Regions from separate parts of the Homo sapiens genome. Here regions 1, 3, 4 and 5 are each linked to region 2. Evidence: promoter capture Hi-C in human tissues and cell types (Jung and others, 2019). All regions are on one chromosome and are shown on one strand. The core of a region is centred on a gene start or on the middle of the fragment in contact, and the rest is flanking DNA. Distances in the headings are between cores, read along the strand shown. Region 1 overlaps MACROD2 (mono-ADP ribosylhydrolase 2). Region 2 holds the start of FLRT3 (fibronectin leucine rich transmembrane protein 3). Region 3 overlaps MACROD2 (mono-ADP ribosylhydrolase 2). Region 4 overlaps MACROD2 (mono-ADP ribosylhydrolase 2). Region 5 overlaps MACROD2 (mono-ADP ribosylhydrolase 2).

Region 1 (2,866 bases), core at 69-2,568, 610 kb before region 2:
TGTACTTGATAAACACTGGGCCAGCATTGAGCTACCAGGATCGTGGCTGTAGAAGCATTGCCCAAGGTTGAAGGATGTAATCCCACATCTGATCCTTCACTCTGATCCATGACCAAACTGCAGTCCTCACCTGCCCCAAGAAATAGTCTGGAGTCTGAATGCCTTAGGTCAGTGGTCATTCTGCAGTTTTAGGGCCAGCAGCATTAGCATTCCCTGGGAGCTTGCTAGAAATGCAAAATCCAGATTTCCTGAGTCAGAACTCTGCAGGGTGGGGGGTAGGCCATCTGTGTTTTAATAAGCCCTCTAGGTGACTCTGATGCACACTCAAATTTGAGCCCCACTGTCTTAGCACAAATGCCTTAGCACCAATATTATTACTATTAGTTACCATGTGTTTACCACTTATTATGAACCAATCATCTTGCTAAAGCCTTTACTTGAATTATCACATTTATTCTTTACAACACCCTTGTGAGGTAGGTACTGCTGGTGCCCCCGTGTATGGAAGGTAAACTGAGGCTCAGCTAGTTTGCAGAGCATACACAAGGGCCTGTGGCCAATGCCGGAGTCAGAAATGGAATCATGCTGGTCTTCCCAATGTTCTGAATCACTTCACTTTGCTGTTCTGCCTCTATAACAAAGCCAGAAACATTGTTATAGAGCAAAATGCACTTTTCAAAGACGTACATTTGTTAAAAGATGTGAGCCTTTTCTGTAAGACAACTTTGACTGTCCCCAGCTTGCTCGGCGAATCTGTGAGCTGTCCTAACAGGAAACTCATCCAGCTCTAAGATATGCCGTATTCTCAGAGAAGCACAAAGGGATATTTGGGAGATAAGAAATGGGCTGAGCCAAGGATCCGACAGCCAGGTATCCGGCCATCTGGAAGGGATCAAACTTAAACAGGTTTGGAGTTGCCCAAATAAATGTCCTTTGTGTCTCCACCAAAATATATATGTGTATGTGTTGTACATGCACACATACACCTCACATGCATAGCAAAATACACATTGTCCATACTTTCATCAGCCATTGGGGGAGAATACAAAATTGAATCTACTTCTTCCCTCCACAAAAAATAAATCACGTGGAATGAAAGTGAATTAAAAGAAATAAACTTTAAAAAGGCATATCTATGAATTCCTACTTGGAGTGTGCTAGGTGCCTGCCACTAGGAAGCACCTGTGTTCTTTTCTCTAAACTGATAAACTAATGTCTATTTTTACCTGGAGGAAAAGAAAATCAACAGATGCTGACCTTACAATAATTATTGCTTATTCTCATATTTTTATTTCAGCATACAAAACATCTCAACATAAAGTGAAAAAATCCTGCATCAAAAATTATATGCTATCATATTTATGCAACACCAAGCAGAGTAAAAGTAAAAAAAAGAAAGAAAAAGGCTCATATATATCTATATTTACTTTTATCTGCAATTAATTAACCTGATAATGCCCCTTGTATTTTATTTAAATACAACATATTGGAAAAATTTTAAGTGTAATTTTTTCTGATATATATCATCTTCTTTAAAATCCATATATTATTGGTATTTAGATACAGATATGTGATAGAACTAGATAGATAGTGATCAACAAAAAATATTCTAAAGAAACATACTTTGAGAATTTGCTTACTTGGAAAAAGATTAATTTGCATTTATTCCACAACATTCACTGAGTTTCCAGTTTATACAATTTTTTTTTTTTTGAGACAGAGTTTTGTTCTTGTCACCCAGGCTGGAGTGCAATGGCACAATCTTGGCTCGCTGCAACCTCCACCTCCTGGGCTCAAGCAGTTCTCGTGCCTCAGCCTCCCCAGTAGCTGGGATTACAGGCACTCGCCAATATGCCCGGCTAATTTTAGTAGAGACAGGGTTTCACCATGTTGGCCAGGCTGGTGTCGAACTCTTGACCTCAGGTGATCCACCCACCTCGGCCTCCCAAAGTGCTAGGATTACAGGCATAAGCCACTTCACACAGCCTGCATTATATGAAATTCTTACTAAAATGCAGATAAATTTCATCAACAATAATTAGAGTATCAATAACAAGTGAGGCCACCATAAAACTCTATGTGAGTATACAAAAATACCCAAATAGTGAGCTACTAAGTTTATTTTCTCATTTTATTTTCTCACCCTCCTTTAAGGGATCATTCCATGCAAGTACTTTGCTATCACAGGACAGTCACATGCTTGCTTTTGTCTCCCGCAGTTCATTCCCCCAAGCTCTTTAAAAGCATTCGGTTCTTCTTACACATCTCCATATACCCAGGAGTTCCTAGAAAACAGCTTTGCAATTGGTAATCCTTTAATAAATAAGACTAAGGTGATGTTATTTAGCAAGGAAGGTACCCAAATGTAAAGGCTGCAAGGTCCAAGAAGATGATACAATGAAGTGGGCTGGCTGGTGAAGTGGACAATCACACCCTTACTAAGGTGACAGCCACTTGTAACCTTGACGCCCCTGTCTTCAGTCCAGAATGCTGGTCCAGTGTTTCCTGACTTGATTTCTCAAAGGAAAAGTTGGCCAGGCATGGTGGCTCATACCTGAAATCCCAGCAGCACTTTGGGAGGCCAAGACGGGCAGATTATTTGAGGTCAGGAGTTCAGGACCAGCCTGGCAAATATGATGAAAACCCAGCTCTATTAAATCCCAGCTACTTGGGAGGCTGAGGCAGGAGAATCGCTTGAACCTGGGAGGCAGAGGTTGCAGTGAGCCAAGATCAGGCCCACTGCACTCCAGCCTGGGCAGTAGAGCGAGACTCAGTCTCCAAAAAAAAGAAAAAAAAAAGAAAGAAAGAAAAGAAAAGTAGCCATTAGGACTTCAAAGAGAAATCTTCCAATTTTTAAACGCTGGCC
Region 2 (2,700 bases), core at 165-2,664:
TTGAGAAAGGACAAAGGAGAAGGTCATGCACCTCTAAGAATAGAGCAAATAAAGATATTAGTTTAAGACAACGGTCCTCCAGGTAAATATAAAAGCTAAGTTCTTACCACCAACATGAACAAGTGAAATACACTTATTTGATGGAAAACTTACGGGCACAAAGCAATTGTTGACCAAATAGCAGAAACCAGTCTACAAAAATCATAATTAAAAATACAAGTATAATTCTGTTAATTAGGCATAGAAATTTATAATCTCCACGTCTTACAATTGTCCAGTGTTTATTCATGTACCTAAATTAAACTAAAATAATTTCAATCCAGGCAAACCACCCTGAAAGATTTTTTTCTTAAGATGTTTATATCTAAACCCATGCTCAGATCAGCAAAAACATTTAGAAAGGAAAATATTCTATTAAATTTTTTAAAAACATTTTATTGGGGGATCGTTAAATATAAATAATCCATTTTAAATAATATAAACACGTAGCAGAAGTACATAAAACATACTTTCATTTTCTAAAACATAGAGAACAGTAACTTCTTCGCCTCCAAAAGAACAGACCATTTAATACCATTTAAAAAAATCTTTTGGCATTCCTATTGCCCTTCCCATAACTAAATGAATCAGTGACACGTGTATATATATACATATATTGGAGATGGAGTTTCGTTCTTGTTGCCCAGGCTGGAGTGCAATGGTGCAATCTTGGCTCACTGCAACCTCTGCCTCCCGGGTTCAAGTGATTCTCCTGCCTCAGCCTCCCAAACAGCTGGGATTACGGGCGCCCAGCTAATTTTTTCTACATGTTGGTCAGGCTGGTCTCGAACTCCTGACCTCAGGTGATCCTCCCACCTCGGCCTCCCAAAGTGCCGGAATTAGAGGCGTGAGCCACCACACCCAGCCCTGATGTATATATTTGAATCTGCTGTTTATTCATATGTTGAATAAACATTCACAGTTGGGATTACTGGCATACATCTTCCACAATTATAACATTATTTTAGCTAGTGAATAATAAAACTAATTTGATTTTGGTTAACTTCTTTTCAATACAGATGGTTTAAAAATAAGACAAAGCCTGTCTTTTTCTATTGTGATCTTAAAAATATCTTTCTAACATGCTTTTTAAAAAAAATACATAAGTATGCTACCACTGCCTTGTAGTAAACTTTAGAAAATGTTGAGATTCCAAAGGGCTGCCTACAAACCAAATGGCATCCTAGCTTTGGCAGGCTGATGCTTCATTTTGGCTGCTCTCGCCCCCTCTAGCGTTTGCAAAGCTCATCTGTCTGATTATCCAGTTACCTCACTGAACAAGATCTTGGCTAAGTCCTGCCCATCTATGACATCACCCCCTTCTTCAGCCACTGCGAGGTGAAGCTTTAAACTTCAGACTTGGAGGTGGGCTGTGTGCAGTAAACTGGAATGCTCTCCCTCGCTCACTCCTCAGTGTAGGAGTGATCTGAAGCAGGACAAGCTCAGCCTGCAGCTGCCGTGGGCTTTGTGTGGACTGGACGCAGAGCTTGGGAGACGGGGGAGGGCTATTACTCCAATTCACTGTCAATGGAATTACAGCTATAGCGGCAGTGTATATAGGATTGCTTTTTCTCGTCTTCCTGGTAAGTGTTTTCCATGTTTTTTCTTATGATTGTCCCAGAAAGTTTGCTTGGTTTTACTCTCTAGAAAGAAACGACTTGATACTATGAGAAATCCAAATAGGAACGTTTGCTCTGTCACCACAACAAGCAATATATGTGCGTGCAAGCCAGCAATGAAAAATTTCACTATCATGGCTGAATGTAAGAAGTTTCTTAGAACCTTCTTTCATTTATAAAAGATAGTAAGTGGCTATTTTCTGTCTTGAGTAATTGCTATGTGAAAAGAGCCTTATGGAAAACAGCAAGTTGGAAAGTTCAATGTTAAATATTAAAGAATACAAGGAGATTCTTCACAGATAGGAAAGCAACTTGGTGTGTACTGTACGTGTGGGATGATCACCAATTGCTGTTTTTACAACTGTGAAAGAAAATCAATAATCCCTCAGCCCATGAGTACGCAGTACATGAAAAGCATACATCTTGCTCACAGCTAGCCGAGCTACTCCTGGAGACTTATGTGCCTCTGTAAAGGATTAACAGCTACACCTAGATTTTAAAGCTTGCACTGCTATCGTGCCTGAGCTGCTTCAAGCATTTCAGGCTTGCAAATCTCAACTAGTAAATTGAACTCAGAGGAGGGGGAGACACTCTTCCAAACCATATTCCCTCTTCAATAGAACACCAAAATCCATTGCTTAGGCAAGTGAAGTATGTGACTAGCATAGTAAATGGCTAAGTCTACTCAGAAAAACTAACAAAGCTCACCCTGGAAGCTATGCCTGATGTATGCAGTGAGTTTGGGGTAGCAGGAAAGAAAAATAAATGAGTAGAGCCCTTATCAAGTGGGTTTTGCAGAGGATCCATTCTTTGCAACTTATAATAGGAAAATCTTATATTGGAAGAAATGCATTTATACTACAAAGCTTGAAAAAGTAGTTAAATGTATCTTCTCAAAAAATTTTGTTCACTGAATTAGGTCTGAAACAAAATGGTTGCATATAGGTAAAGAGTGCAACAGGCCCATCCATGTCTTCTCAACATCTGGGGGGTTTGTTTTTATTATTTTATTTAGAATTTAAAAGAAAAAAAATTGATTTTT
Region 3 (2,881 bases), core at 365-2,864, 630 kb before region 2:
ATCAAAAGTCATCTCACAGTTCATATTGGAGATACTTAGTTCTTTTGAAAAGAGGTAAAGTAATACATAGTCAATCCTAAAGCTCTCTCTGAGCAAGTGAGAAAATAAATAGCTTAGTATTGTGCGTGAAAACAAAACAAAACAAACAAACAGAACTTGAACCCCAGGGCTAGAAGAGGCAGATGGGAGACAGCAACAGATGAGAATGACCAGCAAGTTTTACTTGTGGTAGGGATGGTGATGGCTATCTAATCCAGAGGTTATCGAACTGTGGTCCCCAGCCAGCAGCATCAGCATCATCTGAAAACTTTCCAGTATTGCAAATTCTTGGGTCCATCCAGACTTACTGAATCAGAAACTCTGGGGGTGGAGCCCCCCAGTCTGTGCTTGAACAAGCCCTTCAGGTGATTCTAATGCATGCTGAAGTTTGCATAACCCTGCCCCAAGCCAACAGGAGAATCACGTCCAGGTTGCACAATAAAATATTTTTTTTCTTTTTTTTTACAACTGATGCCTGGACACCACCCCAGTCCCACTAATTTAAAGAACCCCCTGGGTTGGTAGCTGAATATTCTTATGCTTTTACAGTCTCCCCAGATGATGCTAACCAACAAACGGTATTGAGGATGTTGGTCTAACACATGTATGAGTACAATCAATTGAGTGACAAATTGAGAAAGGACCACACAGGGCTGAGAACTGTTGTATATTCTGCCACAGCAGCTGAATGATTGTACACACATTTAACGGGAGTATCATCTTGTTTATTTTACTTCATTGGGTCAAGGTGTTAAAAAGAGATTTAAAAAAATGCTTTTGAAGAGAAATTTTAAGTGATATTTGAAAGTAAGTATTATTATCAGCTAATATGTTTTTTGACCTACCATATAAATTTAAAGACTTTATACACAAAGAAACCTCACAATTGCAATCATGTATGGCAAACACCTTACCTGTCCAGCCCAGAATTTGATATAATAACTTAAAATTTAGAGTTGTCGAAAACCACTGAGCATAAAAATATTAATAACTGTCCTATACCCTTAATAAGAATAAGAAGTATTAGAGTAGAACAAAAAGGACAACAGCCTGCATGTATCAAGAATTTTCATACATATCTTCCTTATCCTGGTAACAACACTATCGGGTAGGTTATATAAAATTTATTGGACAGTAGTAATTACTATTAAAAATGAGGACCCTGAGTCATTAGGAAAGCTAAGTTTTGTTCAAAATATTTTGCTTAAGAAAATATGAAGTAAATTGGCAGACTTCTCACATAGAACTCAAAAGCACTAGCATGGAAGAGAATTGGATAAATAAGAAAATAAGAAATGGAATAGGCAAGTTTACTTAAACAGGAAACAATCATTAATCATTTAAAAAATTACATTTAAGTCTAATTTGTAGAGTTTCTGTTCATCAAAAGTTGACACTAAGAGAGTGAAGTGGCAAGACACAGACTGAGAAATAATATTCACAGTCTATATCTGATGATGGACTCAAATCCAAAGCATTCAAAAAAAACAAAAACAAACAAACAAACAAAACTACCGGCCAGGCACGGTGGCTCACGCCTGTAATCTTAGCACTTTGGGAGGCCGAGGCGGGCGGATTGCCTGAGTTCAGGAATTCGAGACCAGTCTGGCCAACATGGTGAGACCCCGTCTCTACTAAAAATACCTGTAATCCCAGCTACTCAGGAGGCTGAGGCAGGTGAATTGCTTGATCCAGGGAGGTGGAGGTTGCAGTGAGCAGAGATGGCACCATTGCACTCCAGCCTGGGTGTCAGAGAGAGACTCCGTCTCAAAACAAACAAACAAACAAAACTAACAAAAATCATTTAGAAAGAAATTGATTTTAAAATCAGCAAAGACTTGAAGCATTTACAAAAAAAGATTCAAATGGCTGATAAGAACATGAAAAAGTATTCAATGTCATTCTTTTCAAGGAAATGCAAATTAAAACCACATTGAAATATCAGTACACACCCATCAATACATATCCACTATTACACACATACCATAAATTATTTGTTTAAACAATTCAATTCCTGTATATATTTCAGAGAAATGTGAATGTAATTGCTCATGAAAAGACAGCTTCAAGAATGTTCATAGCAGCTTTATACATAATTGTTAAATTATGAATAGGAAAAATTCAAATACCCATTGGCACAACAGTGATAAAAAAATGCCTGTACATACAATGGCATACTACATGGTAGTGTAAAAAATGAATTGTTTGTATATGCAACAACATAGATTACTTCAAAATGTCTTGTTGAGCAAGAGTCTAGATGCAAAAGAGAACATATAGTATGAATCTATTTACATGAAGTTCAAGAACAGGCAAAACTAATGGATGATGACAGAGCTCAGAAGAATGGCTGCTTTGTACGGGAAGAGAGGATGAAATGAGAAGGGTGATGAAGAAGCATCTGAAGACAGGTTCTTGCTCTGTTGCCCAGGCTGGAGTGCAGTGACACAATCACAGCTCACTGCACCCTTGACAACCTGGCCTCAAGCAATCCTCTCACCTCAGCCTCCTGAGTAGCTGGGTCTACAGGCATGCACCACCATGCTTTAATGACTTTTTTATTCTTCGTAGAAATGGAGTCTCACTATGCTGTCCAGGCTGGTGTCAAACTCCTGGGCTCAAACGCTCCCCCTGCCTCAGCCTCCCAAAGTGCTGGGATTATAGGCATGTTCCATATCTTCATCGGAGGTGGTTACACAAGTACATATGCTTAAGATTAGCATGCTTTACTATATGACATAACTAAATGTAAATTAATATTAAAAAGACAAGAAAAAACATAATCCATCGTCAAAAGATAACATCTAAAATAATTCCATTGACAGTGGCTTTATTGCTTATG
Region 4 (2,700 bases), core at 149-2,648, 540 kb before region 2:
CACAGTGCTCAAACACAAGTGCAGGACACTACTCTCTTAATGCCACTGTAGAGTATGGACAAGCTTGAGGAGATGCCAAAGCCTGTCAGCATGAAAACCAAGTCAATATATGACCCTCTTCTCACTGCTTGGTTTTCTCAGCTGACTGGCAAGAGAGCTACCCCGAAACTTCTTGAAGAGGCCGTGTGTGGGGTGCCAGGCTAGGGAATTTATGAATTACCCCATTCAATTCCAAGCAATAAACCTCAGAGATAAGAACAGTGAGTCTCGTTTTATAGATTTGAAGTCTGAGGCACAGGGAAGTCAAGTGCCTTGTCAGTAAGAAGGTTCACCAGCTTTTATTTTGCCTCTTAGACCTAGAGACCAAGGCTTGTTCTAGGTTTGACCTTTAAGTCAACAGAGGTGGTAGAACTTTGAGTCACAGTATTTGATATCTAGTATGGTCAAGCCCACCAGAAGAAGGGAATGCATGAAAGAACCCAGGCTGACTGGCTCCAAAACCTATGGATCTGTAATTCCAGCAGGAAGAGAATGGGAGAAGATCCCACTGACAAGGGCCTAGCAGGAATTAATATTTTCCTTTCCATTGCAACATCCTCTCATTCCTGATGAAGAATTGTTAAAAGCAACATGTATTGCACCTCTTCCCTCCTCAGGGTAGGCCATGTAGGCCCTAATTGGGGGATTTGCTTTCAAGGACTCATGCACAGGCATTACACAGGCTAGTGACAAAGGTCTTGAGGAGTCACGCAGCTCTCCAACCCTCCAGGACCACTCAGGCAGGGATAGGGGCACTGTGATTGCAGCTGCCCACGCTGGGCGGCAGTAGCTCCCAGCAACAAGAGGCCACTCTGGCCCAGCAAACTCATCCCCTTTGTGGAGGGAGTTGTGTTTGTGTTCTGAGGCCCAAAATCATATACAAAATAATGCATGCCATTCCAAGGCATAAGTTAGACGGTTCCACCAGTTCTTTTCAGTTTGTCTTTAAAATCTCTGATTATACAACTTTAATTTTTGGCCTCTCCTCATTGGTCATTAGAGGGAGGCTGACTGCAGCTGAAGGGTGTTTTGCCACATAGCTGTAGATAAGCTAAATGCATGAATTCTTCTGAACCTTGAATAGTGCTGAGCAGAGGATTTGGGGACCTGCCCTCACACTCTTTAGAGAGGTCCCTGTGTTTTAGCCATGTCAGATGCAATTAGGTACAGTTCATCTCTCTTAAGTTCCTCGGGGATTTATTACGTGGGCTCTTGAAGGTTTCCCTTTCAAATGGCCATAGATTTTATATCCAAATCAGTGTGCAGTGATCACTCTCCTCCTAGCTTTAACTCATGGCAATTATGCCTCCATGGAAGTTGAGAATGTAAAGAGTAGAAAAACAAATGTTGCTCTTTGAATTGTCACATGAAATGCAGCAGAAGATAAAATTGATTTTGTAACATATCAGGTGATCAGAGGCTGTGTTGGCAGTGAAGCACCCAGCTCCCATGCTCCCTCTCCCCAAAACTGTGGACATACGTATCTTTTCTCATGATGGCAACAAGAGACTCACTTCTATCTCAGATCCTGTCATGACACTGAAAATGAATTGATTCTGCGTCTCAAGTCAGAGCTGGGCATGATACAATTTGCTGAGATCCATTGTTCTGCTTTCCACCAGTCAACACACAGTTTGTATATTTCTCATCCAAAACGAAAGCACGATGCATACTCTGCTCTCACGAGGCTAAAAAGAGCCAGGGGTTGGATTTGCACAAGTTTAATTCCTACTAAGATTTGCAAAAGATAATTTGAGAAACACATAGACTTTGTAGCTTTGAAGGAACTTAAAAATGACTTTCAACAACCTCTGTCCATTTGGAAACCCAGGTGTATTTAAAATTATTTTCGTAGTTTGTTTTTAATCATCAGTTTTCATGAAAAGAACCAGATTACTATGCTCTTTTAAAGCACTAATTTGCTTTAAAAAATAAAAAGAGAGAAGCACAATGACCAATTGTCTTATGAATCAGAGCTATACTCTATATATGCCACCATTAACTCAACAGTTTGTGATGAAAGAACAATGTAACCTCATCATATTCTCTAACAGTGCTGAGTCATTTCTCTATGAAAGGACTAACAAAGCAGGCTTATGTCTCATCTTCTCTCAAGCAAGTTTAGCCACATTATTACAGTATTTCACCTCTATAGCCTCTCCATTTTCCTCTGAGTCATTGTTTATCTCTTCCATAATCTAACTGGAAAAAAGTAAGTTAATCTCAAATGTCAAATCTATATGTGTATACCTTTATGTCTGAATTTCAAAACTGACTAATGTCAACATGAGTGAACCAATCTGAACACTCTAAAAGATAGGTCAAATTCATGCTAACTTGGAAGAATACTTTTTTAATATTAACCCAAAGAATTTAGGTATACAGATGACATACATTAAATTTAGTTAATAATCAACTCATTCTTTTTCTGTCCATGTAAACATGAATCAGAATGGGTTGTTAGTGAATGTAAACAACAAAACTATTCACCTACTTATTAATTTATTCAGTGTGTGTTTGCTGAACCTGTACTGTGTACAAGGTTTTAATTACGCAATGCATAAGGGTGAAGATAAAAAATACGGAGCTCACAGTCCATTTGTCAGTACAACAGAGATGAGTAAGGTGAAAACCACAGAAGCACAAAATAGTGTTATGTGA
Region 5 (2,700 bases), core at 90-2,589, 530 kb before region 2:
ATAATCATGTCTTAGGCAGCAAGAAAAGGACATGTTATTTAGTATTTATAAAACATATTTTAAAATGGAAACTTTTTAAATTTTGCAGGACACATAGAGAGTGTTCTCATCCACATTTTAGAAAATGGACACCTAAGGGAAAAGAAAGAAATTATCTATACTCAGGAAATAGCCTACATCATGTAGTATGGCCCCACTTCTCCTGACCATAAAAATCACCTAGCAACTTATTAAAAATACAGATTTGAGGGAAGAATATGGCAAACTTCATTGTAAGCCAATGCACTAGTCAAGTTTAACAATGGAGAAGTGAGTTTAGAGTTTGTAAGTGGGTTAACCAAGGTCTGAATCCTGGCTTGGCCGCTTTCTAGCTACATGATTTTGGACAAGTTTCTTAAACTCTTACAGCCTTTGTTTTTTCATCTATCGTATGAAGATAATAATAGTTCCTCTTTAATAGTATTGATGTGAGGATAAAATGGATGTAAAGCTCTTAGCAATAGTGGCTGACAAATGTTATTAATAGAATCTCTATGCATGATATTAATGTTATATATATTAAGCCAGATATGTCTTTTTTCTTCTTTACAATTTGGAAACTCACATTTATGTAACTATATTTTTCTGGAAATCTCTATCCACACCCAAAGACTTTCACTTCCTGTTCAATATGCTTTGATATTGTTACAGTTGGTCAAACTGTATTTGTGATACATGTTTTTAAGTTAAACTATTCAATTAGAAGCATTTGATATAAAATAGTCGTGTTCACAACACCTGTAAGAATCGTTCCTTTACTCCTCACCCCTGCCCTCCTTTACCCCTTGGAGCTTTACAGAGGCACTGGAAGTGGCCTGTATCAGTGTGATCGGGGAGAAAATCAGAAAGGACAAGAAATCTACAATGTGAAATGTGCCCATAGATATAAGCGCTGCCTGTGCAATGAGCCCACAGATATGTGCATTGGCAAAACTGCAAGTGCAGTTTATGAAAAGTTGCTGCCCTTCAGGGATCTCGTTTTTCTTCCTACAGTTGTCTAGTGAAATGAGAGGCTTAGGGTGAAAGAAACTGTGAAAGAACCCGTGGGTGATTTGCTTCTGCTTTACTGATCTCATTTGAAGCCAACCCTTGGAGAATGGCTAGTGAATACTAATAATACCTTATTAGAAACTATAGCGTGGCTTCATGCAAGGTGAACCTAAATGTGTAGTCACTGCCCATCTTCTGTGTGAAAGGAGGAAGCCGTGGCATCCACATCAGCATTTTTGTATTACTATTTAACTAAAAGTTTGGCTCCCATATAGGAATGTACAGCTCATTGTTCAAAATCCCTCACTACAGTAGGTATGCCAACTCAACTTCTGCTCTCTTCTCTGAAAATTCTGTGCCCATTAGGAAGGACTGGGTTTCCTGTTAGACAAAAGGCAAGGGCCAGCTTAGGTGGAACTCACTGCTTTGGTCTTCATCCTCTCTATTAAAAAAAAATATATATATATATATTTATATATATTTATATATATATTTATATATATTTATATATATATTTATATATATATATTTATATATATATTTATATATATATATTTATATATATTTATATTTATATATATATTTATACATATATATTTATATATATTTATATTTATATATATATTTTTATATATTTATATATATTTATATTTATATATATATTTATATATATTTATATATATATTTATATATATTTATATATATATATTTATATATATTTATATATATATTTATATATATTTATATATATATTTATATATATTTATATATATATATTTATATATATTTATATATATATTTATATATATTTATATATATATTTTTATATATTAATATATATTTTTATATATATATTTACATATATTTATATATATTTATATAAATATATATAAATATACATAGTAATATATTTATATATATTAATATATAAATATATATTTATATATATTTATATATATATATATTTATATATTTATGTATAAATATATATTTATATATATTTATATATATTTATATATTTATGTATAATATATATTTATATATATTATATATTTATATATTTATGTATAAATATATATTTATATATATTTATATATTTATATATATTTATATATATATAAATATATATATAAATATATATAAATATATATAAATATATATATATAAATATATATATAAATATATATATATATATTTATATATAAAACCTCCAATGTCCTATTTCACTTTGGAAGTGTGCATTCCACAGCCCCCACAAGTATTGCAGAGCATAATACCATAAGTATGTACATCCCAGTGGACCTTGGGGTCCTGCTTGGCCAGCAGCAGGAGAGCCACTGATATTAAGAAGGAACGTTGTCAAGAGGTGCCAGATGGGGTTAGCCCTTCGGGAGGTCATTCCACCTAAAAGTGCCCAGCTCAATGCCAAGATGGCATGAGTGAGTTACCTTAATGAGAAAGTGCCAGTCTGCCCTTCCTTCTAATTCCTGGGGTTGTGTGTGGGAGGGACAGAGGCTGTTTGTGGGGTTTATTGTGAGCTCTGTGCTGGTTATTCACCCATTTTCCCCACTACATAGACTACAGGAGGTTGATCCATGCAGAGTGCATTCCCCCAGCTCCCTCATAGTCTGGCTTCTAATTGGAGGCATCAGCAGGATATCAGAGAGTAGG

What was found. The method cuts DNA at HindIII sites, captures the fragments that hold promoters and counts their contacts. A contact is called where the count stands out against the background at its distance.
Region 1: a contact is called between a fragment that was not itself captured here and the fragment with the promoter of FLRT3 in region 2, in 1 of the 25 tissues and cell types used here (dorsolateral prefrontal cortex).
Region 3: a fragment that was not itself captured here is called in contact with the fragment with the promoter of FLRT3 in region 2 in 1 of the 25 tissues and cell types used here (lymphoblastoid cells).
Region 4: a fragment that was not itself captured here is called in contact with the fragment with the promoter of FLRT3 in region 2 in 2 of the 25 tissues and cell types used here (dorsolateral prefrontal cortex and mesenchymal stem cells).
Region 5: a fragment that was not itself captured here is called in contact with the fragment with the promoter of FLRT3 in region 2 in 1 of the 25 tissues and cell types used here (dorsolateral prefrontal cortex).

What each region holds. Positions count from the first base shown.
Region 1 is chr20:14,945,047-14,947,912 of GRCh38, reverse strand. All of the region lies in intron 5 of MACROD2 (mono-ADP ribosylhydrolase 2), which reads right to left. Among named protein-coding and RNA genes, the nearest start is that of MACROD2-AS1, 17 kb to the right of the region's middle. The HindIII fragment of the contact is 6,808 bases long and covers 1-2,866 here.
Region 2 is chr20:14,336,326-14,339,025 of GRCh38, reverse strand. It overlaps FLRT3 (fibronectin leucine rich transmembrane protein 3), which reads left to right and starts at 1,414. Exons shown (of 3, transcript NM_198391.3): 1 at 1,414-1,622. All of the region lies in intron 3 of MACROD2 (mono-ADP ribosylhydrolase 2), which reads right to left. The HindIII fragment of the contact is 3,050 bases long and covers 1-2,342 here.
Region 3 is chr20:14,966,138-14,969,018 of GRCh38, reverse strand. All of the region lies in intron 5 of MACROD2 (mono-ADP ribosylhydrolase 2), which reads right to left. Among named protein-coding and RNA genes, the nearest start is that of MACROD2-AS1, 38 kb to the right of the region's middle. The HindIII fragment of the contact is 6,624 bases long and covers 1-2,881 here.
Region 4 is chr20:14,879,024-14,881,723 of GRCh38, reverse strand. All of the region lies in intron 5 of MACROD2 (mono-ADP ribosylhydrolase 2), which reads right to left. Among named protein-coding and RNA genes, the nearest start is that of MACROD2-AS1, 49 kb to the left of the region's middle. The HindIII fragment of the contact is 4,918 bases long and covers 1-2,700 here.
Region 5 is chr20:14,861,501-14,864,200 of GRCh38, reverse strand. All of the region lies in intron 5 of MACROD2 (mono-ADP ribosylhydrolase 2), which reads right to left. Among named protein-coding and RNA genes, the nearest start is that of MACROD2-AS1, 67 kb to the left of the region's middle. The HindIII fragment of the contact is 5,024 bases long and covers 1-2,700 here.